2 separate regions of the Homo sapiens genome follow, and region 1 is linked to region 2. Evidence: promoter capture Hi-C in human tissues and cell types (Jung and others, 2019). All regions are on one chromosome and are shown on one strand. Each heading gives the region's core, a stretch centred on a gene start or on the middle of the fragment in contact. The rest is flanking DNA. Distances are from core to core; before and after follow the strand shown.

Region 1 (4,039 bases), core at 527-3,026, 450 kb after region 2:
CTTGTACAATGGCATTGATTTGAGGCATTTCGGTGGCAGGTTTTATCTTCCTGCATTGAACGCCAGATTAATTATTAGGAAAGTTGTTTATTTTAACCCACCCCCAAACTGGTAAGAATAGAAATGCTGGGCTAGGTCGAGATCATGACTCACAGTTAAATCACTTGTGTGTGTGGTCACGGGCCAGAGGATGCAGCTTTGAAGCACTGAAATGACTTCAGCTTTGGTCCATTTTAACTTGAAAATTTGAGAATGTAGCAGAGATGCCTTCCACTGTTTTTCAGAGGTGAGATTTCATTACATTGAGCAATATATTTTGAGTTTCTAAATTTGACATTTCAGTCCATTATTTTATCTGTATATTCTCTTTTTGAAAATGGAAATGCAGATAAACTAAAACCACTAAGAAGACATATTTCTTAGTTTTGAGAAGAAGGTCCTTTTAGGCCAGGCGTGGTGGCTCACGCATATAATCCCAGCACTTTGGGCGGATCACCTGAGCCCAGGAGTTTGAGACCAGCCTAGGCAACATAGTGAAACCTCGTCTCTACAAAAAATAAGAAATAAGGCTGGGCGCAGTGGCTCATGCCTGTAATTCCAGCACTTTGGGAGGCTGAGGCGGGCAGATCACGAGGTCAGGAGATCGAGGCCATCCTGGCCAACATGATAAAACCCCGTCTCTACTAAAAATACAAAAATTAGCTGGGCATGGTGGCACACGCCTGTAGTCCCAGCTACTCGGGAGGCTGAGGCAGGAGAATCACTTGAACCCAGGGGGCAGAGGTTGCAGTGAGCCGAGATTGCGCCACTGCACTCCAGCCTGGCAACAGAGCAAGACTCCATCTCAAAAAAAAAAAAAAAAAAAAAAAAAAAAATATATATATATATATATATATATATATATATATATATATATAAATCAGGCATGGGGTCATGTGCTACATGTAGTCCTAGTTAGTTGAGAGGCTGAGGTGGAAGGATCACTTGAGCCCAGGAGGTCGAGGCTGCAGTGAGCTGTGATTGCACCACTGTACTCCAGCCTGGGCGATAGAGCAAGACCCTGTCTTGAAATTAAAAAAAAAGAAGGTGCTTTTAAGAATATTAATACATCTTTTATATTAATAGAAAATTTTGGCCGGGTGCAGTGGGTCACGCCTGTAATCCCAGCACTCTGGGAGGCCGAGGCGGGCTGATCACGAGGTCAAGAGATCAAGACCATCCTGGCCAACATGGTGAAACCCTGTCTCTACTAAAAATACAAAAATTAGCTGGGCATGGTGGCATGCGCCTGTAGTCCCAGCTACTCGGGAGGCTGAGGCAGGAGAATCACTTGAACCCAGGGGGCAGAGGTTGCAGTGAGCCGAGATTGCGCCACTGCACTCCAGCCTAGCGACAGAGCAAGACTCCATCTCAAAACTAAAAAAAAAAAAAGAAAAGAAAAGAAAATTTCAGATAGCGAGGCTAATGTAACAAATTCCCATCACTCAGCTTCAACCAATTATCAATTTGTGGCCAATCTTATTTTATCAAATTCAGAGCTCAAAGTTTTACTTAACTTCATCAGTTTTATATCTTTAGCTCTTTTCTCCCTGAAAATCCTGGTTCTCAATGATATTACTCATTTACCAATGCTATCAAGAGTAATTACTCATTTACCAGTGCTATCAAGAGTTGCTTTTTGTTTTTTACATATTATAATTTTATTAAGTAACTGATAGGTTTGTAGTATTTCAATCTTTTCCAGTGTTGTATAATTAGGTCCTATGAGTTATCTGTTACGTGTAGAAAGCTTTTTATTCACCTCATTTTTGCCATTTTGAGAGCTATAATTTTGTCATAGAATCACTGAATGCTAGAGCTGAGAGAAACTGAAGTTGATACAAATGGCAAATAGGTTTTATCTTGGGACCTAAACCAATAGATCATTTGTAACTGTTGGGCTTTGGCGTTAAGAAACTTTTGTAGGCATGCTCCTGACTCCTGAGAAAGTGGGCCCTGATTGATTAGTGTGACTTGGGTCTAGGCAGCCCATGTGTGCATCTCTGTGGCAGTTGGGCTGAGTAAACTTGCTAAATACATCCAGCTCTCTGTAATACCTGGTGTAACTCTTTAAAACTTCTGTTTTTTTCTGACGTGAATTTGGCTAATTCCTCAGTGTGTTACAGGATTCTATGTATATCAGTTAGGGATTGAGTTTGACTACATGGAACAGAGTGGCCTAAATAAATGTGAGTGTCCTTTTTTCTCAGAAAATGAAAAGTACAGAGGTAAGCAACCCAGGGCTGGCAGGACATTTCCCAGATGACATTAGGGACCCAGGATCTTCTGTTCTTCTGCCCAGCCATTCTGAGAGTATGCTTATGGTCAAAAGACAACTCCCTAGGCTCCAGTCGAGAAGGAGTAAAACGTTACATGCTAAGACTCCCTTAAAACGCTTTCCTGTAAAGCCTGCCCTTTGAGTTCTGCTTATATCTCAATGGGGAAACTATATCACATGGCCGTTTCATCTGTAGCAAAGCCAGAAAATATAGATTTTTTTTTTACCCAATTATGTTGGTACCCAACAACATTGGATTTCTGATAGCCCTGAATGTTCCTGAATGTAGTTGGAAAGACTGTGTTCCATCAGCTAATGGTCTTTGCTACAGTCCTCCACTACCCAGTATCCCTCTTTTTTCCAAAATGAGAATATGTTCACCACCTCCTCAATAGCAATACCTCCAAAGTCTCATCTAGTTAGTTAATATTCAGCTGAAAGGCCAGGTCTTCAGAGTGATTTCAGATCTTCCAAGGATGGGGTCTCATAAATTAAAAGAAAGGCTAAATGCCCCCTTCTCCCATATTACATAGTTGGAGAAAGAAAAGGATAATTATAGTAAAAATTCCCACTTGGAAAAGCAATGATCAAATCTTGCTGGATGGGAAGGAATAGCAGAGTCCCTTCCCTGGTAGTAGAGAACATTCGTTGGGTGGTTTATCTGCTTCCTGGGAGGATTTCTTTGGTTTTGTTTCCACTGTAGCCCCTGTCTCTCTGGGAGATTTTTATTGTATGTTCTCTGCCATGACCATATCCAAGTTATATATCAGAAAGCATGCCAGAGAAGGTGGTTCTTAAAAGGGTGTAACAATCTAAATACCCATCACTAGGGAACTCGGTAAATAATTGTGGTATATCCACATACTGGGTGGCTGTTAAACAGAATGAAGGTGATCCAGATGTATTAATAGGGAATAAATTTAAAGATATATTAAGTAAAAATAGCTAAGGTAAAAGAAAGACCATGTGTATGATATACTTCCATTTGTGAGAAGGGAAAAAAGAGAGCTACATATGTATGCATGTTGTATGTACATACACAATATTTGGATGTGTACGTAAGAAATGGTGAACAGTCGTTTCCCCTGGAGAGGAGACCACAAAATCAGAAATAAGAGAGATGCTCTTTTCATTTTATACCCAACTTACTCTAGATGAATATTTTTTATTATGTGTACATATTTCCTTTTTAATTTATATGCATCTTGATAAAATTTTTTTGACTGGAAGGAGAAATAACAATGATTTATGAGTGTTTGTGATTTATAAAAAATATTTACCACTTAACTGCCTTCAGAGACCCAATGGAAGGTAGAGACCAGACTTTTGATATTTTCATTTTCTGGGTGGATAGGCAGCTAAGCCTTTGGCTGACCAAATACCTACTGCAAGGCTTATATTTCTAGTTCTTCTTTATCCTATTTAGCAGCAACATAAGGTTCACACTCACTTTTCCTCTACAGTGGAAATTTTGCTCAGCCGACAAAAGAAGGCTGAACTTCTAAAGAAGATGACTCATGTGGCTGTTCAAATGTCAGAGCAGCAATTGGTTGAGCTCAGAGCTGATATCAAGGTAAAACTTCTTTCTGCTTTCTGCCTTTCTTCTTATCCTCAGGGGCTAAAGTAAGAAATTTTCATAATTCATGGCCATATCTAATATATTAAACTCATGATCTTCCTTTCCCAAACCTGGCCCTCTTCCAAGTCCCTTTCTCTGTAAGT
Region 2 (4,400 bases), core at 1,170-3,669:
CTTAAGACCAAGAGTTTGAGACCAGCCTGGCCAACATGGTGAAACCCTGTCTCTACTAAAAATACAAAAAATTAGTTGGGCATGGTGGTGCATGCCTGTAGTCCCAGCTACTCAGGAGGGTGAAGCGTGAGAATTGCTTGAACCCAGGAGGTGGAGGTTGCAGTGAGCTGAGATTGCGGCACTGCACTCCAGCCTGGGTGACAGAGCGAGACTGTCTTGAAAAGAAAAGAAAAATAAAGTAATTACTTTTGTTTTATTGATGAATAATAGATGTACCAAGTTTCAGGGTACATGTGACAATTTAATACATTCATATAATTTGTAAAGATCAAATAAGTGTATCTGGAATATTCATCACCTTAAATATTTGGCTTTTCTTTATGCTAGAACCATTTGAATTCTTCTCTTCTAGCTATTTTGAAATGTAAAATAGCTTATTGTAAGCTATAGTCACCCTACTGATCTACTAAGTCTTATTTCTTCTATCAAACTATATATTTGTACCCATTGATCAATTTATCTTCATCCCTCCCACTCCCTTCCCCCTTACATTCTTTTTATTCTTTTTTTTTTTTCTTTTTTTTCTTGAGACATTGCTTCACTCTTGTTGCCCAGGCTAGAGCGCAGTGGCACGATCTCGGCTCACTGCAACCTCCGCCTCCCAGGTTCAAGCAATTCTCCTGCCTCAGCCTCCCGAGTAGATGGGATTACAGATGTCCATCACCATGTCCGGCTAATTTTTTGTATTTTTAGTAGAGACGGGGTTTCACCATGTTGGCCAGGCTGGTCTCGAACTCTTGACCTCAGGTGATCCACCTGCCTTGGCCTCCCAAAGAACTGGGATTACAGGCATAAGCCACGGTGCCCAGCTTTTTTTTTTTTTTTTTTTTTTTTTTGAGACAGTCTCACCCTGACACCCAGGCTGGTGTGCAGTGGCACGACCTTGGCTCACTGCCACTTTTGCCTCCTGGGTTCAAGCGATTCTCCTACCTCAGTCTCCTTTGTAGCTGGGATTACAGGCGTGCGCCACCATGCCCAGCTAATTTTGGTATTTTTAGTAGAGATGAGGTTTCACCATGTTGGCCAGGTTGGTCTCGAAATCCAGACCTCAATCCATCCGCCCGCCTCAGCTTCCCAAAGTGCTGGGATTACAGGCATGAGCCACTGCGCCCAGCCTCCCCTTACATTCTTAACCTTGGGGGTGACACAGATAGATCAGCTCCAGGGAGTTATCCAGGTAACTGGAAAGACACGCTAAGGTTCTTAATGTCTACATCTAAACTATCCCAGACTCAATATCTTGCAAAATCCATACTCTAGCCATCCATCGAACAGGATTGCTAAAGAAGAAATCAGATGTAATGTCTAAATAAATCAGCCCCTTGGCACCAGAGAAATAAATTATGGAGTTGGGTGGGGTATCCAAGCCCTCCGGGTCGCATACCACCAGCACACTAGGGGAGAAGTCTACTCACTATTCTCCACTGTAGGATCGTAGCCTTCCGAGAACTCGCCTTCCACAAATTGATGTGCCAAAGATGTCTTCCCTGTGGGGAGCAGTGTGACAGTTGTATCCAAATCATCCATCCACATTCACATCCTCTGTCCTTTCGGACTGTGGCCCAGGACCAAAGGAGACCCCAAATTAACACCACAGTCTGTGAGTGCCTCAAGCAATGCTATCCTTTGTGTCTACCCTCACCCTCTTTTCACCCAGGGTCTCCGCACTTTGGCTACCGGATGCATTCAGAAGCGCAGCAGGAAGCCTTTCCCGCCGCCTTCCCCACCCCATCCCACTCGTAGGAAGATCCAAGATTCCCTAGGATCAAGTCCGCCCCGCCCCAGGACACCTGCGACTATCTGTCCCCACGGAGACCGCGTCCCGGTTTTCAAATTGTGACCCCACCCCTATCCCCAAAGTAACGCTGGGACCACTCTGAGATTCCCGCAGCCAGGTCCGCATTAACCCTTAAGTGCTCCCGCTTCCTGCAGCCTCCACACACCACCAACTCTTCCAATCCTCCACTCTTCCATTCCTCCACTCTTCCAATCCTCGCTCTACAACCCCATCCTTACGATGTCATCATTCCTCCCTGGGTCGCGTTCCCACGGCAGCGCGCCTCTTCTGGCTACAAAGCTGCTGCGCGTCCGAGCTCTGCAGGGCGGAGACTCACCTACACAGCGGTATCCGAGGATGACCACCTTCCTGTAGCGGACTAGCGGCATGGCAGGAGCCCGCCCCAGGGGCTTGCGGAACTGCGGGCTCAGAGAGCCCGAAAACGAGGTCAGGGTGTGAGCAGGCGCGGCAGCTGGTGCAGGAAAGTCGCTCACCCCGAAGCTGCCGTGGGCAAGTTAGAAGGAAACCAAAACAAGCGCCGCGCCCGGAGCTGCCCACGTGATCACAACACAGCACGTCTAACGCCAGGGAGCCGGGCGCCCGGGGAACTACTGAGCCGCGCCGCGCCGGGCTCCGCCCCCCAGGCCGCTCGCCATTGGTCCATTAGAATGGGTAAGGGCGGTGCCGCCAGCAGGAGGGAAGGGTGGGCCTCACGTGGAGCGGGAGAACTGGGAGCTGCGCGTGCGCAGACTGGAGCCGGTTCATTCATAAAGAAACAGAAAGGAACCCGGGGTCCTAAAGGCGTTTGCGCATTTACAGCCTAGCTGAAGTGGCTTCGAAGAATTATGGATGGAAAATACCCGTTTTGTGGTTTCCGGTCATAAGATTCTAGCCCTCCCTTTTGCATGGTCTCTGGGGTCCTTAGATAGGGAGAAAACCGCCAAAGTTCTAGTATATTCCTTCTGCTTCCCCCAGCCTTCAGCCCCAGACCTATCAAGGTTTCCAGTCTTCCAGCATCTAATTTCAAACTGCAATTCTTATTCTTGCAGAAATTGCTAGAATTTATGATCAAGTAGTCTGAGGTTTCTTCTTCATCATCATGATCCTCAAATATTCATTTTTCAACAAATACTGAGTATATACTACATGTTTCAGGCATTGCTCCAGCTTTGGGGTCAGAACATGGACATCACAGACAATGTGTCTGCTCTTATGAAGGGAGAAACAAACATACAACAAGGAAATATCAGAGAGTGTTAAGTGCTGTAGAAGATGGTGTGATGAAAGATGACCACTTTATTTTTTTTATTTTTTTATTTTTATTTTTATTTTTTTTGAGACGGAATCTCGCTCTTTCTACCAGGCCGGAGGGCAGTGGCTCTATCTCGGCTCACTGCAAGCTCCGCCTCCCGGGTTCACGCCATTTTCCTGCCTCAGCCTCCAGAGTAGCTGGGACTACAGGCGCCCGCCACCGCGCCCGGCTAATTTTTTGTATTTTTAGTAGAGACGGGGTTTCACCGTGTTAGCCAGCATGGCCTCCATCTCCTGACCTCGTGATCCGCCCGCCTCGGCCTCCCAAAGTGATGGGATTACAGGCGTGAGCCACCGCGCCCGGCCGACCACTTTATTTTTTAAAGACAATACAGCATTTTTAATTTTTTTTCTTTATTTATTTTGAGACAGGGTTATGAGACTGGCTAATTTTTGTATTTTGGGGAGAGATGGGGTTTTGCTATGTTGCCCAGGCTGGTCTCGAACGCCTAGCCTCAAGTGATCCACCTGACCCGGCCTCCCAAAGTGCTGGGATTACAGACGTGAGCCACCGAGCCTGGCTGAGATGACCACTTTAGTGATACTTTCTCTCATAGGAAACCCCATTTAAACTAAGATCTGAAGGAACCAACTAGGAGATTTCACAAGAAGAATCCACCAATGCTAAGGCGTTAAGATGGAAATAAATTGGGTAAATTCCAGGAAGAGGGGAAGAAAAAAAGAAAGCCAGTTAGCCTAAAGCAGATGAAGTCTAAGAGAATGGCAGAGGCCAGGCCACATAAAGGAGTCTGGGCTAATTCTAAGTACTTGAAGGTATTTAAGCTGGGGCATGACATGATCTAAATTGTCTTTCTAAAAAATCTCCCTGGCTGTAGTGAATAGATTGGGGTTTGAGGGTAACAGGAGCAAAAGGAAGCAGGGAGATTGGCGAGGAAACTGTTACCTGTAGTCCAGGTGAGAGATGAGAGCGCTTGACTAGAGTGATCATGTTGAATGAAGTTGAGAATTCAGGATATTCTGAAGCTAAGGTTAAAATGACTTGTGGAAGGATTGGTAGAGGAGGGAAGAAAGGAAGGAAATCACCTAGATTTATAGAGAGTTCGACTATACTATGTGCCAGGTGCATTTTATTGTTATCTCATTTAATATTCACAAAAGCCCTAGGCCGGGCATGGTGGCTCATGCCTGTAATCCCAGCACTTTGGGAGGCTGAGGTGGACGGATCGCTTGAGGTCGGGAGTTCGAGACCAGCCTGTCCAACATAGTGAAACCCCGTCTCTACTAAAAATAC

What was found. Contacts are between HindIII fragments. The study calls those that stand out against the background at their distance.
Region 1: a fragment that was not itself captured here is called in contact with the fragment with the promoter of RHEBL1 in region 2 in 2 of the 25 tissues and cell types used here (bladder and dorsolateral prefrontal cortex).

What each region holds. Positions count from the first base shown.
Region 1 is chr12:49,515,293-49,519,331 of GRCh38, forward strand. It overlaps SPATS2 (spermatogenesis associated serine rich 2), which reads left to right. Exons shown (of 14, transcript NM_023071.4): 11 at 3,781-3,890. Among named protein-coding and RNA genes, the nearest start is that of KCNH3, 22 kb to the right of the region's middle. The HindIII fragment of the contact is 7,896 bases long and covers 1-4,039 here.
Region 2 is chr12:49,067,560-49,071,959 of GRCh38, forward strand. RHEBL1 (RHEB like 1) reads right to left here and starts at 2,420. Exons shown (of 8, transcript NM_144593.3): 1 at 2,175-2,420; 2 at 1,476-1,547. The coding sequence starts at 2,226. RefSeq lists enhancers at 2,134-2,443, 2,814-2,863 and a silencer at 2,464-2,583. The HindIII fragment of the contact is 9,146 bases long and covers 1-4,400 here.